Regions from separate parts of the Homo sapiens genome. Here region 1 is linked to region 2. Evidence: promoter capture Hi-C in human tissues and cell types (Jung and others, 2019). All regions are on one chromosome and are shown on one strand. Each heading gives the region's core, a stretch centred on a gene start or on the middle of the fragment in contact. The rest is flanking DNA. Distances are from core to core; before and after follow the strand shown.

Region 1 (5,387 bases), core at 157-2,656, 170 kb before region 2:
GTAGGACAAAGCGAGTGAAGAGTGTAAAAAGCCTCCAGAAAGAAAAAGAGGAGTTAAATCCTCCTCAGGGAAAACGAAACCTCAAGCACGTTAAGGTTAAAAATATAAGCAAGCCAGGAAAAAACAGGATAGACAAGAAATCTCTAGGATTAAGAGGTTAAGTCTACCTGATATTCAATATGGGAAAGGTTTCTAGTAAATCGGGGGCAAAAAAAGATGCAAGTTATCAAATCCCTCCCGATAGTCCTTTAAGGCTCATGTTAAAGTATTGGAAAGATAATAAAAAAACTAAATTTAAAAAAAGCAGCAGATAATTAAGTATTGTTGCTTTATTTGGACTAAAAAGCCAATTCTCAAGCCAGCGGTTTTTTGGTCAAAATTTAGGTCAGATAAAGATTAAATCTGTCAACTTTTAATAATATATGTTTATAGCAAAAGTCCTGTGTCACAAGAAAAATTGATTATGCTTTATGCTAGCGGCAAGGGCCTATATTATTCTTTATCCTTTAAAAACGATCAAAGGGGGACTAGAAAATAAAAAACAGTCAAAAATGGCCTTATCTAATAAGAGATAGGACCCTCTAGACCACCTTCCCCCGTTTCTTAATAACCTGCTGACACCTCCCCAGGTAGCTGCTGCTGTCCTAGATCCCCTTCTGGACCTGATCCCTGACCCAGCTGCCACTCCAGGCCCCCCTGCCACTCCAGGCCCCCCTGCCACTCCAGGCCTCCCCCATATAACCCAGATTCTTGTGAATCCCAGGAGCCTAAAAATTCTAAATATCCTTCTTTAAAGAAAAGACTCCAACAAAAATTAAAACAATGTAAGAAGGATATTCAGAATTTCCCTTTTCCTGCCCCCCAAAAAAGTTAACTTCAACATTCTTTCCTTTAAGGAAAGTTCCCCAAGGAGGAGAAGCTATTGGTTTTGTGGATGCTCCCCTTACTGGGTCTGAAGTTTGGAGTATAAAAAGAGAACTAAAGCCACTGTTAAATAATCCTAACAGGGTGGCAGATCAAATTGATCAGTTTTTAGGCCCACAGTTATATACTTGGGCTGAATCAGTGTGCATCCTAGGTATTATTTTTTCAAGGAAAAAAAGAAATACGATCTGGGAACGTAAACATCCTCCAGGTCAAAATGTTCTGGCAGCAAATCATAAATTCCCTGCTCAGGACCCGCAGTGGGATAAAATAATGCTGCCCACCGAAATAATATAAGGAATTTTTTAAAAAATAATAATCAGGGGGATTCAAAAGTCAGCACCCAGACCCCAAAACCTTTCCAAAGCATTTAATGTCCAACAAAAGAAAGATGAAGGACCTATGAGGTTCATAGATAAATTAAAAGAACAAATAAAAAAAATGCTAACTTAGACCCAGAAAGCCCTCTTGGGCAAGGAATGTTAAAACTGCACTTTGTTACTCACAGTTGGCCAGACATTACTAAAAAGTTACAAAAATTAGAAAATTTAAAAAATCAATAAAAAAGTTATTTAAAAAGGCTCAAAAACTATATGTAAAAAAATAAGGAAAGACAAAGGCAAAAAGCAAAAATCTTTTGGCAAAATTCACTAGTCTCTGGCAGACGATGCCAGAGACCAGATCTAGACCTGGGCCTATAAAATTCTCTAGGGGAGGCAAAAGGAAAAAGTTTAGGAATTCAAAAATGCAAAACAAAAAAAGAAGGCAAGGTCAGTATTTATTTTTTTAAACTAATTTATTAATTTATTAATTTATTTATTTATTTTGAGATGGAGTCTCACTCTGTCACCCAGGCTGGAGTGCAGTGGTGCGATCTCGGCTAGCTCCGCCTCCCAGGTTCACGCCATTCTCCTGCCTCAGCCTCCTGAGTAGCTGGGACCACAGGCCCACGCCACCACACCCAGCTAATTTTTTGTATTTTTAGTAGAGACGGGGTTTCACGTGTTAGCCAGGACGGTCTGGATCTCCTGACCTCGTGATCTGCCCGCCTCGGCCTCCCAAAGTGCTGGGATTACAGGTGTGAGCCATCGCGCCCGGCCAGGTCAGTATTTTAGAAAAAAATGTCAAAGTAAGTGTCATAGGAGCTGTGGATGTGAAAATAAAGAGGAGAAGCAAAGAAGCTTTGGGCTTGGTAGGGAGGAAGGAAAAGACAGATGTTACAGATGCGGGAGACCAGGTCGTTTTAAAAGGGAATGTCCCAAGTTAGAAAAGGCAGAAAAAGCTCCCCCACTTGTGACCACTTTTAAAGAAGAATAGGGGGGTCAGGGGCTCTGACTTTTCTATTTTGAGTCCCACCAAGAGCCCTTGATAAATTTAGAGGTGGGACCCAGACATAAATTAATCACCTTTTTAGTCGACTCAGGAGAAGCCCATTCACCTGTCTGTTTTCCTTCAGCTCATTTAGTTTGTTCCCCAAAGGAATTAACAGTTTCTGGGGTTAAAGGGGAAGGATTCAAGGCAAAAGTTTTAGAAAATACAGAAGTTAAATATATAAATTGATTAGTTTATATACAATTTTTATTAATTCCTAAAGCAAAAGCCAATTTGTTAGAAAGAGATTTAACGTTAAAGTTAGGTATAGGTTTACAAGTTAGTCCAAAAGGTTTCCTAACCTCTTTAAATTTGTTAGCTATAGCAGATAAAAAATACATTCATCCAGCTGTCTGGTCAAGGGAAGGTAATCAGGGAAATTTACAGATTCCTCCAACACATGTTCAGTTAAAGACTCCAGGGGAAATAGTAAAAAGAAAGCAATACCCTATTCCTTTAGAAGGAAGAATAGGGTTAAAGCCTGTAATCAAAAGACTTATTAAAGATGGGCTATTGAACCTTCTATGTCTCCATACAATACTCCAATGTTACCAGTCAAAAAAATCAGATGAATCATACCAATTAGTGCAAAATCTTAGAGCTATCAATCAAATAGTTCAAACCACTCATCCTGTTGGGCCTAACCCCTACACTATTCTTAGTAAAATTCCATATAGTCATCAGTGGTTCACAGTAATAGACTTAAAAGATACATTTTAGGCATGTCCTTTGGCTAAAGACAGCCAAAATATATTTGCCTTTGAGTGGGAGGACCCCTATTTAGGCAAAAGCAACAATACAGGTGGACAGTTTTTACCCCAAGGATTTACAGATTTTCCCAATCTTTTTTGTCAAGTATTTAAAAAAAATTATTGTCCCAAAACAGTTATGCTTTCTTCAATATGTAGATAATATTCTTACATCTAAGGAAGAGATAGAAAAGGTAGCTGGACTTTCTACAAAAGTTCTTAACCACCTACAAGATAAAGGGTTATGGGTTTCAAAAGAAAAGCTTCAATATGTAGAACCTAAAGTTAAATATCTAGGCCATTTAATAAGTGCAGATAAAAGAAAAATAAGACCCCCCAAAATTGAGAAAATCATGTCTCTACCCTTGCCCCGAACCAAACAAGAACTTAAAAAATTCCTGGGATTAGTTGGGTACTGTCGTTTATGGATGGACTCATATGCATTAAAAAGTAAGCTCTTATATAAGAAATTAACTAAAGAGGAAACGCATCCCCTTATATGGACTTCTAAAGAAGTTAATCAAGTGGAGAAATTAAAAGAAAGACTCATCACTGCTCCCATCCTAGCCTTACCCTCTTCAGAAAATCATGTCATCTTTTTGTGAATGTAGACAATAGAGTAGGGTGGTCACTAAAGAACATGGAGGCGGTCAACAACCAGTAGCCTTTCTATCAAAAGCATTAGATCCAGTTGCCAGTAGATGGCCTCCGTGTATTCAGTCTCTAGCAGCCACAGCAATACTAGTTGAAGAAAGTAAGAAATTAACTTTTGAAGGGTACCTAACAGTGAGCACCCCTCACCAAGTTAAGGTGATCCTAAACCAAAAAGCTGGGAGATGGCTTACTGATTCTAGAATCTTAAAATATGAGGCTATTCTATTAAAAAAAAAGATGATTTAACAGATAATTCCTGAAATCCAGCAAGCTTCTTAACAGGAAACCTACTGCTCAAAAAAAGAACATTTGTGGTTAGATTTAATTGACTATCATACAAAAGTTAGGCCAGATTTAGTAGAGACCCCTTTTAAAACAGAGCGACATCTATTTATAGATGTCTCCTCCCGGGTAATTGAAGGGACATGACATAATGGATATGCTATAATTATAGGAAGATCTTAAAAGAAGTAAAATCAGGAAGATTATCAAATAGTTAGTCTGCCCAACCTTGCGAGTTATTCACAGTCACGCCCTAAAATATTTACAGAACCAGGTAAAAACCATCTATACTGACTCTAAATATGCCTTTGGGGTATCTCATACATTTGGGAAAATTGGGGCTAAGCAAGGACTAATTAACAGTAAAGGTAAAGAACTTCCTCGTGAAACACTAATTGTTCATGTTTTTAATAATCTTCAGTTACCTGAAGAAATAGCCATTGTCCATGTTCCAGGACACCAACCTAACTTTTCTTTTAAAAGTCGAGGAAACAATCTTGCAGACCAAATAGCAAAGCAGGCTGCTGTTTCTGAGACGTGCATTTTTCATTTAACCCCTTGTCTCCCTTCTCCTATTGTAGTTCCTATTTTCTCTCAAGACGAAAAAGTTAGAAAAGATTAGAGCTCAAAAAAAATTCAAAAGGAAGATGGATACTTCCAGATCAAAGAGAAATGTTATCCAAGCATCTTATAAGAGAAATTTTGTCCCAACTACATCAGGGAAGTAATTAGGATCCCCAAGCTATGTGTGATGCAGTTCTGTTTATGGATGCATTAAAGTTTATACTTTAGCCAAACAAGTTACAGTTATTTAATTTGCAAAAAAAAAAAAAAAAAAAAAAAACACAAATAAACAAGCCTTAAAAAAAGTTACCCCTTAGAGGAAAAAATCCAGGACGATGGCCATTTCAAAGTGTTCCAATTAACTATAGTAAAATGCCCCCAATTGGTGGCCTAAAATATTTATTAGTAATAGTAGATCATTTTACCCACTGGGTAAAAGCCATTGTTTTTTCAAGTGTAACTGCCAGTAATGCAGTCAAAGCCTTAATTAAACATATTGTACCTAGGTTTAGCTTAATAAAAAATATTAATTCACACAATGAAACCCATTTTACTGCACGTGTTATTATCTAGTACTGCCCTAAGTACTAGACATAAAGTGGGAATATCACATTCCTTGGCATCCATCCTCTTCGGGAGGAGTAAAAAGGATAAATCAAACTCTTAAAAATCATGTAACTAAATCAGTCCTAATGACTTGCTTGCCATGAACTAAACGTCTTCCTATTGCTTTATTAAAAATTAAAACTGCCCCTAGGAAAGATGTTGGATTGTCCCCTTATAAAATGTATAGATTACCCTACTTACATTCTTCTGCTGATGTCCCTATGTTTTTATTGTTAT
Region 2 (4,996 bases), core at 1,629-4,128:
TTACAGGCATGCGCCACCACGCCAGCTAATTTTTGTATTTTTAGTAGAGATGGGGTTTTGCCATGTTGGCCAGGATGATCTCAAATTCCTGACCTCAAATGATGCGCCTGCCTTGGCCTCCCATGGTGTTGGGATTACAGGCGTGAGCCACCACGCCCGGCCAAGTCCTCCCTCCTGAGAACCTTGGCCCTTCCTGCACTTCCCTGGCCACTGTCATTCTGGTTTGCTGAATAGGCATCTCCCAGCAGGTGAAAGGTTCCAGGATGTAGGGACTAGTTCCAGCACCCAGGAAGGTACAGAGCAGGGGCCGGACAAACGTTTGCTGCAGATTCAGCCTCTCAAAAATTTTCTCTGACCTCCTGCCACCTATACCCTCTCCAGAGGCCACTAGCCCCTTCCTCCCTCCCAAGGGCCTCCATCCAACCCACCTGCCAGGTTCCAGCTCCTGGGGCACTCCAAGTTCAAGGCTGATCCGTGCCAGGGACCCTGGCTCTCTCCCAGGGCCAGGCACAGGTTAAACATTGATAGGCAATGCCTGCAGCATTGCCTTATCCCCTCACCTCCTCCATGAAGCCTCCCTGATGCCTGGGCCAAGGACCCCAAGTACTTGGAGACTGTCTGGTGGCTCTTTTCCTGGTTAGACATGCCTGAGAGTGGGCTTCTCTGGACAGATGGGGTCTGTCACATAGCCCCAGAAGCTGGCCCAGCCAGCCTCAGCTGTTTGCTGAGGGAATACATGAATAGATGGCCGCATGTGGCTGAGAGAGGCCAGAGCCACCAGCTCAGGTGGCAGCACCTAGTGGGATCTGGTTCCCTTAGACAAAGGCCAGTGTGGGGGACAGATGAATAAATCATGAGGGGCCTGGAATGGAGCCGGGGCAGGATGATGACCTCATTCTGGGAGTTGAAGAGCGGGCAGCTGGGTGGGGAGTGGGCTGGGGTCATGGCAAGGAAGCCTGAGAGGCCAGCAGGGGCTGCCCGGCCCACCTCCACCCCTTTTCCTTGAGAAGCAAGAGGTTGAAGGTCAGCAGGACCAGGTGGAGGTCCTGGCAGAACGCAGGGAGGTGGGCAATGCAGAGGGACCCTGGGGAGGAGAGGGGGCTAGCACAGAGGGACCCTGGGGAGGAGGGAGGGAAGGAGGGGGCTAGCACAGAGGGACCCTGGGGAGGAGGGAGGGAAGGAGGGGGCAGCACAGAGGGACCCTGGGGAGGAGGGAGGGAGGCAGGGAGGTGGGCAGCACAGACGGACCCTAGGGCTCTGGGCTGGGGAGATGGGGAAGGCCTTTCCAGAATTCTGGAGCTCTCCTGGGAGCGGGATGGTGGGGAGAATAGGAAGAGCAAGGAAGGACAGACAGAAAGACCAATGCAAGAAAGGACCTTGCAGCAACAGAGGGAAGGAGCCAGCAGAGAGATGGGCTGAGTGGGTCAGAGACGGCAGAGACACCACTGGATCCAGACTGACAGAGATGGCGGCGAGTCAGAGGGGATGGAGACGGGGCTGCAGGCAAAACAGACACAGAGGCAGAGGGGGCACAGAGGGGCAGGCGGTGAGATGGAAACTGAGCAAGGAGGTGTGTGGGGCATCAGGTGCGCGTGAGCCAGAGAGATGCAGGCAGAACACTGCGGGGGAGGAGGCCAAAGGCAGGCAGGAGGGCCGACCACTGGGGCCACAAGGATGATCAGGTGGAGCCCCGGGCACAGTCTGTGACCAGCATGAGGGGCTTCACCAGGCTGACAGGGCCACACGAGGGGCCACGGGGAGCTAGGGAGGATACAAGACTCTGGGGACACGGGGCTCTCCCAGTTTATGGAGGAAGGGACAGAAAGAAGAGTAGCAGGGACCCAGGCCACACCTGTGGCTGCCCACAAGACCACTCTCCCGCAGGACTGGGGAGGCCGGACGGAGCAGCGTCCCTCAGCCAGGAGGAGGTACCAAGCCCTCATCTCCATGGCCCAGCCCCAGGGCCCAGCAGAGGGCAGCCTCCCAACGGGGGACCCCAGCCCCTCTGAGGGCACTCCAGGAACCAGCCAGGCCCCTGGCAGCCCAGCAGCCACCCGGCGACGAGAGCTTCTCCGGGAGCTCGAGGCCCAGGTGCAGGCAGCCTACGGGCAGGTAATGCGGGCAGGGGTATGAGGGGACCAGGAACAAAGAGCAGGGACCCCACACCCCAACTGGGGGCCCCGGAGGACAGACCCAGGACTTAGTCCAGGGAGGGGACCAGGAGGCAGAGTCCAATGGGAGACTCTCTGAGGTCGGCAGGGCCGGGGTGGCTTCCCTTCCCAATCTCCACCCTCACCGAGCCCTGTCACTGCCCACAGCACATAGGCGGTTCCCTTCTGCTCCTCATCCAAGGGCGGGGCACCAGTCCAGGCAGGGGGAGCCAAGTGCAAGCAATTGGGGCTACCCCGAGGTGAGGAGCCCAGGGCCCAGCTGGGGTCCTGGCAGGGAGAGGCAGGGGCTTCCTGGGCTGAGCCAAGTGGCTGCCTCTTTCTGGGAGGCTGTGTGGGAAGGCCCGCGTGTCCATACCAACCGGAATCTGTGCCATTCGGAGGGCCCAGCCCACCCTGGCACACTGCACGCCTGCCTTCCTCCTCCTGGGACCCAGGCCCTGCTTCTGAAGACATTAAATCTCCCCTGATTGGGAGAGATTAGAGGCAGGGGTTGGGGGAGGGTGCTGGAGAAGGGGCGTCTGGAAGACCCTCAGGAGGCAGTCTGGGGAGGCTGTGCTCTCCAGGGGGCCTTGGGCCCAAGTGGCTCCCCTCAGCAGCGGAGACGCTCAAAGATAATCCCGGATTAGGACCCAAGCCCCAGGCCCAAGTCCCCCGCCTGCCCACCCGCCCCCGATCTTCCCCACAAAACCCCAGGAAAATCCCCGGCAGTACTCCCAGGCTCTCATCGGGAGCAGCTGGGGGCTGGCAGGAGTCCTCAGGCAGCAGCATCCGCCGAGGCCCACCCGGGCCACCCCCGGGGTTCCAGGCCTGGCATGGTTCAGGGCCCATGGGGAACTGTGCCAAGCGGCCCTGGCGCCGGGGCCCTAAGGTAGGAGGGGTCAGGGGAGAAACCCAGGCCAGGAGGCTGGAATGGACCCTGAGGGTCAGATGGGATGGGCAGAGCCCTCCGAGGGCCGGGCGGGGTTGGGGGCTGCCCACTGCCCCAGGTGGAGATTTTTTTCCTGGAAGCCACAGCCTCTGGCCATCCTGATCTTGGCTCCCACCGACCTCTGGGTCTCCCCTGCCAGGCTCCAGGTCCCCCAGCTGCCCGTCCAGCTGCCCCATCCCGGCTGCAGGTCCCCGCTCTCTGCTAGCCAGCCTCCATCTAGGAGACAGAGCTGGGCACAAGGTCCCTCTCTGCCGCTGGCTTTCTCAGTGGCCTTGGCCAAGTCTCTTGCCTTTTCTGGTCCTCAGTTTGCCCAACAGAACAGTTAGAGGATTGACCCTTTCTGCCTAAAGAGTTCACGGGTGAGGGTCCTCTCTCTACCCCCCAGCCCCTTCCCTACTGTCCCATGCCGGGCTCCAAAGACAGGAGCAGCTGGTGAGAGGAGTGGGGAGGGCTATCAGGCCCAGAGCTCAGCGGCCACTGCCCCAGCTCACGGCCGGCTCTGCTGCAGGACCCCTTGCAGTGGCTCGGCTCCCCACCAAGGGGCTCCTGCCCCAGCCCCAGCTCCAGCCCCAAGGAGCAGGGGGACCCCGCGCCAGGCGTCCAGGGCTACTCGGTGCTCAACAGCCTGGTGGGGCCTGCCTGCATCTTCCTGCGGCCCAGCATTGCCGCCACCCAACTCGTATGTACGGCCACCCGCCCGCCAGCCTGCCTGCCCTTGCCCCTCTCCCACCAGCTCACCTGCCCTTGCCCCTCGCACTCCAGCCCACCTACCCTTGCCCCTCGCTTTGCCTCTCCTGGAGCTAGGGGGAAGAGGATTGAGTGGGGACATCAGAGCAAAGGTACACAGATCTGGGGTGGGGGTGCAGAGAGGGGAGAGAGCAATGACTCTAGAAATGGAAGAGAGATCAACAGTGACATTGAGGCTGGCGGGACCAAGTCTGAGGTTCTGCCCAAACCCCAGATCCACCACCAGCAAAGGGAGCCCCCTGCCCCAGAAGAGGGTGATGGAGTAGGTGAGGACGGCCCAAGGAGTGACCTAGGCCAGAAGCAGGGAAGGGGGCACCCGGTTACCCAGGCCAGTGAGTAGGATGGGGTGGGAACCAGGGCCGAGCAATCAGACAGACACAGGCCCTGCGTGTGCGTGTTGGATTGTGGGGCTGGGTGGGGAGCCCCGGGAAGCAAGAAGGAAGGGCACAGTCATCAGTAGGAGCAGGGAATTCCTAACCCCTCTGTGCCCTTCAGGACCGGGAGCTGCGGCCCGAGGAGATTGAAGGTAAAGGGTTGGAGAAGGAACTGGTTCCCTGAAGGGGAGGTGGCATGGGGGGCATGGGGTGGGGACACAGGGTTGGGGGGGCATCGGGTGGGGGCCTCAGTGTTTCCAGGAGGAAGTGGGAGCAAGAAGGCTGCAGGGGACCAGTTTAGGGAAATGGGGACAAGACTGAGCAGGGAGGGGATGACAGACCCCCACCCAGCTGTCATTCCTTGGTCTCACTCACCAGGCAGGTGACAGGGCCCCTTTTATATTTGTTCATTCAGCTGACACTTCCTGGGTGCCCACTGTGTGCCTGGCCCTGGCTGAGCACTGGGAAACATGGCCAGCTAGACAGATATGGCCCGTGCCCTCTGGAGACCAACGTCAATTAGTCAGCTACAAGTACAAATGGTGCATGTGCTCTCCAGGAAAGGGACAAATGGGCCGGGGGAGGCCACATGTAGAGGGATGGCTTCCTTTAGTAGGTGACATAGGACCAAAGAGGAAGGGGAAGAGTGAGGAAATCTCCAAGAGGTCAGAATTTGTTTCCCCCACTTTCTTTCTTTCTTCCTTTTTGAAAAATTTCACTGCTGTATCCCCAGTGCCTAGAGCAGAGCTTGGCACATAGTAGATGCTCCTCAAATA

The links. The method cuts DNA at HindIII sites, captures the fragments that hold promoters and counts their contacts. A contact is called where the count stands out against the background at its distance.
Region 1: a fragment that was not itself captured here is called in contact with the fragment with the promoter of CABP2 in region 2 in 2 of the 25 tissues and cell types used here (dorsolateral prefrontal cortex and lymphoblastoid cells).

The regions. Positions count from the first base shown.
Region 1 is chr11:67,689,703-67,695,089 of GRCh38, reverse strand. No RefSeq gene overlaps it. Among named protein-coding and RNA genes, the nearest start is that of ALDH3B2, 18 kb to the right of the region's middle. The HindIII fragment of the contact is 4,464 bases long and covers 1-3,638 here.
Region 2 is chr11:67,521,328-67,526,323 of GRCh38, reverse strand. It overlaps CABP2 (calcium binding protein 2), which reads left to right and starts at 2,878. Exons shown (of 7, transcript NM_016366.3): 1 at 2,878-3,039; 2 at 3,608-3,778; 3 at 4,342-4,372. The coding sequence starts at 2,998. The HindIII fragment of the contact is 19,085 bases long and covers 1-4,996 here.